Regions from separate parts of the Homo sapiens genome. Here region 2 is linked to region 1. Evidence: promoter capture Hi-C in human tissues and cell types (Jung and others, 2019). All regions are on one chromosome and are shown on one strand. Each heading gives the region's core, a stretch centred on a gene start or on the middle of the fragment in contact. The rest is flanking DNA. Distances are from core to core; before and after follow the strand shown.

Region 1 (3,858 bases), core at 751-3,250:
CTACAGCAGAGTGTTTCTCTACCGCCCTCTAGTAAATCCCCACTGAAATGTTTCTCAGCAGTTACGTGTTCTCATAGAGCTCTACTTAAGGGTGTGGACTTTGGATTCACCCTTTCTGGGTTCTAATTTTGGCTTTGCCACAAATTAACTGTGATGCTGAATAGACTACTTAACCTTGCTGGGTCTGTTTCCTCATCTGTCAAAATAGTGATAACAATAGTATCTAACCTATTTAGATTATTGTGAAGATTAAATAATACTTAGGGTTACTGTGAGGGTTAAATAAGTAATACTTATAAAAAGCAATTGCTACTATGTTGAGCATAATTAAGGTCAACTGTGATTACTATTACAAAAAATAACATTTGATGATTTTCCTGGTTAATTTGCCTTGAGCTACCTGGTGGTGGGGGTGAAAGGGGGAGGGCTGTAATGGGCATAGAAAGCCATGAATTAAAAAACCATCAAGCAGATCCCTAGGATACTTTGCAGGGAAATCTCTCACTCTTGGCCCTATCAATGCTCACTAGGCACATCCTGATCTCATTTGGACTCAATTATACAAAAAGCTTCCCAGTAGAAGATGAGCTTGTGATAGACATAGCTAAGCACTGTAAAACCAAACTGAAGGCCGGGCGCGGTGGCTCACCTGAGGTCAGGAGTTCGAGGCCAGCCTGGCCAACGTGGTGAAACCCTGTCTCTACTGAAAATACAAAAAAATTAGCCGGGCGTGATGGCGCGTGCCTGTAGTCCCAGCTACTCGGGAGGCTGAGGCAGGAGAATCGCTTGAACCCGGGAGGCGGAGGTCGCAATGAGCCGAGATTGTGCCACTGCACTCCAGGCTGGGTGACAGAGCGAGACTCCCTCTCAAAAAAACAAAAAAGGCTTTCCTGAGCTCCAGTGCATGCAGCTTTTGAAAGATGGTATTGTTATGAATCCCCTGCAGCGCAACGTGCAGGCTCGCTACTGTAGTGAATGCTACTGGTAAATCAGACCACAGTGATTTAAAACAAAAATCTGCAGGAAGTGAGACCCTGTGACTTGAAAGTCAGAGGGCCAGGGCAAGCCTTGTCAAGAAAAGAAAGCATGAGATCCTAGAATCCTCGTTTGGAAGGGACTCACCTCTCATTTCTAGGGAGGCATCACAAGGCAGTATAGTTTATGAAGACCACCTGGCCATCGACCTGAAATTAAACCAGAGGTGCAATTCACAAACCTCGATAGGCAAGGCAGGTAGAAGTTGCCAGAAGAAACAGTGACTCTCTTTAAGATGAAGCAGCCCAGAACGGCATCATCTCACTCAGGTAGTGCGTCTGAATGAGCATGCACAATTGTTTAAATGAATAAATGTTTTGCTACACTGGGTCCATTATAATTCGAGCCTACACCCCCTCCTAGATCTTGAAAACTTGAAGAACTTCTTAGCTGAAAATAACAGCTCAGCTAAACAGGCATTTATTTGCCCACAAGACCGCATCTCTGAACAGTTTCAACAAGCTAAAAAAACTGACGTCCTTTCCAAAGAAAAGGAAGTCGGCTGCCAGGGGAGAAAAGGCTTCAGCGATGCTTGGAGGAAGGGACTCTGGTTTACGCTGGCTCCCTTCCTAAACACTTCCGGAAGCAGAGCCCCTTCCCGGCCGCTGGAGAAGCCTGGGTGGGACCCCGAGTCGGCCAGTTACAGGATAGGAGGTGCCAGGCAAGGCACTGAAGCCATGCAGTGAGAACAGCGTGAGCGCCTGATCCATTGGGTCCTGCGGCTGCCAGGCCAGAGGCCCCGCGCCAGGAGCTCTTCAGGCGCCGGCTGCTGACAGTTCCAGGCGTGGAGCGCCTTCCCACGTGAAACGCGTCCCGGAAGATACGATCCTCACAACCTCTTCCCTCAAAAACAGACTCGGCAAAGTTAGCCCGGATAAACCTGCCCCGTCGCCCCAGCGCCTCGCGGACGCTCCCCTCCCACCTTCAGGAAACGCGCCTAGAAGAAAGCGAGCTTAATCCGCCGGTAAGGCGGACGTGACGTCACAAAGCGCCGGTTCCTTTCGGCTCCCGCTCCCAGAGGCGCGCAGTGCATGCCGGGCCCTGTAGTTTTTCCGGGGAGTCGGTGCCAGGGCCGAGATTCCCGCGCTTCAAGTCCCGCAGCCCTGGCTGCGTCTTAGAGAGGCGTGAAACCGGATGATGGGAGCCGCTTGTTGGCTTAGATATTCCTTCAACTAGAATGACGTATCTTGCAGCACTCGGCTGAATTTTTTTCTTTTTCTTTTTTTTTTTTGAGACGGAGTCTTGCTCTGTTGCTCAGGCTGGAGTGTAGAGGCGCGATCTCGGCTCACTGCAACCTTCGCCTCCCGGTTCAAGCGATTCTCCTGACTATGCTGTATTTCTATCTGTAACATCACTGTCCAATAGATATATAATTCGAACCATATACGTAATTTAAAAATTTCCAGTAGCCTCATTAAAAGTCAAAATAGAAACAATCATATATATTTTATTTAACCCATACATCCCAAATAGTATTATTTCAACATATAATCAAAAAATTTTTTGAGATGGAGTCTCGCTTTGTCGCCCAGGCTGGAAGCGGCGCAATTTCGGCGCACTGCAACCTCCGTCTCCTGGCTTCAAGCGATTCTCCTGCCTCAGCCTCCCAAGTAGCTGGGATTACAGGCGCCCGCCATCACACCCGGCTCATTTTTGTTATTTTTAGTAGAGACGGGGTTTCGCCATGTTACCAGGCTGGTCTCGAACTCCTGACCTCAAGTGATCCGCCCGCCTCAACCTCCCAGAGTGCTGGGATTACAGGCGTGAGTCACGATGCCCGGGGTCGGTCTGTCTGTCTCATATATATATATATATATATTTTTTTTTTTTTTTTTTTTTTTTTTGAGACGGAGTCTCGCTCTGTCACCCAGGCTGGAGTGCAGTGGCGCAATCTCTGCTCACTGCAAGCTCCGCCTCCCAGGTTCACGCCATTCTCCTGCCTCAGCCTCGCGAGTAGCTGGGACTACAGGTGCCTGCCACCACGTCAGGCTAATTTTTGTATTTTTAGTAGATACGGGGTTTCACCATGTTAGCCAGGATGGTCTCGATCTCCTGACCTCGTGATCTGCCCGCCTCGGCCTCCCAAAGTGCTGGATTACAGGCGTGAGCCACCGCACCTGGCTGCCGAGTCTCAATATTTTAAAAAATACTTATGTTCTGTTCTGTTTTTAATGCGAAGTTTAAGAAATCTGGTGTGTGTTACACTTAGAATACATCCCAATTTGGATCAGCCACATTTCAGATGCTGGATAGTCACATGTGGCTACTGGCTACTGTAGTACAGTACTACTACAGTGTAGTGGGCAGAACAGGTCTAAAAACCTTTGGATTGCCGGGAATAAGTAATATAGCTGCCTGGATACTTCAGGGGCCTTTGTCACCCAGTAACTGAATGCTCTATTACTAAAAATGAAAGAATTCATTTTTCTTTGTTACCCCTCAAAAATTTATGCAACTTGCTCAACCCCATCCTTCTCTCTAGTTCAAAGGAAATGGGACATGGCCCTCCTCCAAGGCCAAAGACTTTGCTCCTCATTCCTCTCCAATATCTTTAATCTGCAAGTGACTGCCTCTTCTGTCTTTTAAGAAATATTCCAGTGGGGGTAAGGGGTATCAAAGACCTTCTTCTAGGGTTCTTTATCTCAGGGATTGGTATTACTAGCAATCTAGTTGCGTAACTAAAAAGTGAGTCATGTTCCTTGTTATCTCCCTTCCCTTAATCCCCTTAGTGCAATCCATTACCAAGTCCTGTTGATCTTACTTCCTATCTCTTGAATCCATCCATTTCTCTCCACTTGCATGCCAATACGCTAGTAAAAGCCA
Region 2 (3,858 bases), core at 886-3,385, 580 kb before region 1:
TCCTGTCTCAGCCTCCCAAAGTGCTGAGATTACAGCCGTGAGCCACTACACCGGGCTTGATGTTGCTTTTTAATCCAGACTGACAGTCTTTGCCCCTAAACTGGAATGTTTATATTTAATGCAGTCATCAATATAATTGAATTTAAATTAATTATCTTGCTTATTTGTTTCCTATCCAATACTTTCATCTGTTTCTTTTTTTTTTTTTTTCCCTCTCCTTCTTTCCTTCATTTGGATTAAGAAAAGTTCTTATTTTTTTGGCCGGGTGGACAACCTGTCTAAATGTAGAAACAACTTCATTCATTTTCTTTCTCAGCTGTTCAAACTTTAAATGTTTAAAAGGGATACTAATACCTTTGTGATAACTGGGTAAAGATTTGTCCAGATTACACCTGGATGGTATATGTTTGTATGTATGTATTATACACACGTATGTTTAATTCCCTCGGCCACTCTGAATTGAGCCATATGTGATTTCATTTCTTTATTATGTTTGCTTAGAGTATATTCGAGAAGATGCTTGGACTATGCAGCACTTTTATAGGTCCAGTTGTGTTGATTTGGGAGAGAAGAGAGAAGGTGAGCATGAACTTGACAGTTCTTGTGTGCCTGTTCTGTGCCAGGCACTTGGTTAGTACTTTACACATGCTCTTATTTTTTTCCTCACAACAATCCCAAGAGGTGGAAATAAACTATTTCCATCTTACAGATGGGAATTGACAGAGCTAGAATTTCAATCTGTCGATTCCAGCAGCATCTTTTGAAGCTTTCATGATGAGCAGAATGGATGATACTGTTGAGATCTGTATTCATCCAGGATCTTTTGTTCCTCCTGTTTCAGCAAACTCTTAAGATTGGAACTACATCAGTAGATAGGTGTGCAATGCCAGTCTTTTGCCTCATTTATTAAACAAGGCAGCCGGGAAGTACTCAGTTTTAATGTCACTTGGTCTTCACTCTTTTGTTTTTTTGTTTTGTTTTGTTTTGTTTTTGGAGACACAGTCTCCCTCTGTCACCCAGGATGGAGGACAGTGGCGCAATCTAGTCTCTGCCTCCTGGGTTCAAGCGATTATCATGCCTCAGCCTCCCAAGTAGCTGGGATTACAAGTGTGCACCACCATGCCTGGTTAATTTTTTGTATTTTTAGTATAGACGGGGTTTCACCATGTTGACCACGCTGGTCTGGAACTCCTGACCTCAGGTGATCTGCCACCTAGGCCTCCCAAAGTGCTGCGATTACAGGCATGAGCCAGCATTCCTGGCCCACTCTTCTTGTTTGTGGGTAGATCTCCCCCACCCCAGACCTTCTCTCCAATTCACCTTTTCTTCCATCTCCTTTAACATTGTAAAAAATGGTTTCTGGACCCCAAATCTATGAATAGAATGTGCTTAGAGGCAGGAGAGTACTGAGCTGAAAACATCTCACTAACCACTGATTTTAGTTAGCATGGCCTTTAGAAAGGAGTTAAAGCACTCATATAACCTGTTTTCCTAATACAAAATTTGGGAAGCAACAAAACCTTTTGCTGACAAATGTGGAAAAGTCTATGATGAGGAAGTGGATTGGATCTTGCTTGTGAACACTTATTTTCTTCCTTCTGGTAGCTAGATTTCAAGCTTCTCTTATTCCTGAGATGTAGTGACCAAGTTCATATATGTTGACTATGATTGCATATCATTTACCTAGAAGAATATTCTAGGGCAGACTTGAAGCCTATTTTTGTTGTCTGTTGTTAGGCAACAAAACCTACCTCAAAACTTAATGGCTTAAAACAACATCTATTTTATATTTGATCATAATTCTATGACTTGGGAATTCAGGCAGGGCTCAGCTGGATGGTTCTTCTCTATGTGACTAACAGCTGGGGTGTCTCATGACATTGTAGTCAGTGACTGGAATGGCTAAGATGGCTTCATTCACACATCTGGCAAGTTGGTGGGCATGATGAGGAGGCAAAGCCTTCTCTCTCTCGCTGTGGCTGTCTCCCTAGTTGTGACTAGCTTGGCTTTTGTTATTTGGAAGCTAAATTCCAAAAGTGAGCATACCAGGCAGCAAAGGCAGAAGCTGTAATTCTCCTAGGGCCTACTAGCCTTGGAAGTTACATGATGTGGCTTTCTCCACCTTCCGTTGGTCAAAACAAGAATTTGGTTTGGCATTGTGACAAGGGGAAGGGCAGGAGAGGGGACATTGCTGAAGAGCTGGTAAGATGGACACTATTGTTGCAACTATCTTTAGAAACATAATTTACCACAGAACACTTTCCTTGGGGAGCTTGAGCCCCACTGTAAGCCAGTTAAATAAGAATCTCTGAAGAAACAGTAAGATGCTCTCCAGGAAGTCCTGTGTGTGTGTTCTTCTAAGCACGATCTGCAGTCTGGCTCTTTCTGTTTCATACAACATGGCATTCCAGTGTGCAAGATGATGAGTCCTCCCACTCCTTTGAGCCATACTGATAAGAGAAATTGAAAATAATTTAAGTGCTGTTATTTTTTTTTTCTAGGACACAGTCCTACTTCTGTAAAATTTCCCCATCTGCTCCAGTATACAGTGATGTTGAGTACTATTGTTTTATAATCACTGGTGAATTCCTGGTAAGAACCATATCTTCTTCTGTGTTTAATCTCTGTGTTAAGCACAGCATTACATTCCAGTAGGTATGTGATAAATCCTTGAATTGAACCATTGAAAATGGCACTGTTGCTGCTGTTCTCAGTGCCTATCAGAATTGTGCAGAATTAATAGTTCCTATAGATCTAACAATTACATACCCCTGTTAAAAATATAGAAAAAATGTGGTTTTGAAATGAACAGATTTAAAATTAGACTAAACTTGAAAAGTGGCCTAAATGTTTTTAATGGCAAAAACTTTCTGTTTTATTTATTATTTTTAATTTGTTTGGAAAACTTTTTTTTTTAATGTGGAAGCATATTTAGAATACTGTGAATAAATATAAGTTGCTTTCCTGCAAATTGCTTTATTTAGGGAGGCCAAAGGCAGAACCCTAAAGACTTTAGAACCACTTAAAATACAGATAATTTACTTGGTCATTTTCAACCCAGGAACACACAGATTTTACTCTTGAAACTACTTATAAAAATCCTTGGAGTTAATGGTATACGAGAGTGTTGTAGCTCATGGAGTACTAAACCATGAGATCAATCATAAGATTCTCCCTGATACTTGTAAGAGGTACAGATTCCCAGGTTCCCCTTTGTTAGAGATTTGGATATAATACATCTCTGGTGAGACTTTGAAATCTCTGTTTTTAATGACTGGTCCTGGAGCTTTTAGGAATGCAGATTTATGGGCCCCACCCCAGACCTACTGAATCCAGTGGGAAGAGAGGGGTTGGTCTGTCAACAGGTGTTCCAGGTGATTCTTACGTGTGCTGTTGTTGAAGAAGCACTGTTAATAGAGAAATCCCTTTCATAGTTCTTTGCCAGAAAACTACAGTTCTACCAGAAAGTATCCCAAAAGATTTTCACTGTATATAGGAACCTGCAGTTAGGGATCCTCCAGATGTTGTGGGATATTGGTTGTTACTGTTTTGAAACTGAGGTATAGTTGACATACCATAATATTCATACATTATAAATGTACAATGAGATTTAGTAAATATATAGTTATGAAACCATCACTAAAATCTTTTGTTTCTTTCTTTTCTTTCTTTTTTTTTTTTTTTTTTTTTTTTTTGAGTCTTACTCTGTCACTCAGGCTACAGTACAGTGGCATGGTCATAGCTCACCGCAGCCTTGACCTTCTAGGCTCAAGGGATCCTCCTTCCTCAGCCTTCCACGTAGCTGGCACTGCAGGCGCGCACCACCACGCATGGCTTAAAATCCAATTTTATAACACT

What was found. Contacts are between HindIII fragments. The study calls those that stand out against the background at their distance.
Region 2: a fragment that was not itself captured here is called in contact with the fragment with the promoter of ADAT1 in region 1 in 1 of the 25 tissues and cell types used here (spleen).

The regions. Positions count from the first base shown.
Region 1 is chr16:75,621,281-75,625,138 of GRCh38, forward strand. ADAT1 (adenosine deaminase tRNA specific 1) reads right to left here and starts at 2,001. Exons shown (of 10, transcript NM_001324445.2): 1 at 1,123-2,001. RefSeq lists a silencer at 1-165 and enhancers at 234-754, 755-1,274, 1,275-1,794, 1,676-1,915, 1,795-2,314. The HindIII fragment of the contact is 9,595 bases long and covers 1-3,858 here.
Region 2 is chr16:75,036,374-75,040,231 of GRCh38, forward strand. The region is part of intron 1 of ZNRF1 (zinc and ring finger 1); the gene reads left to right. Among named protein-coding and RNA genes, the nearest start is that of ZNRF1, 39 kb to the left of the region's middle. The HindIII fragment of the contact is 4,304 bases long and covers 1-3,858 here.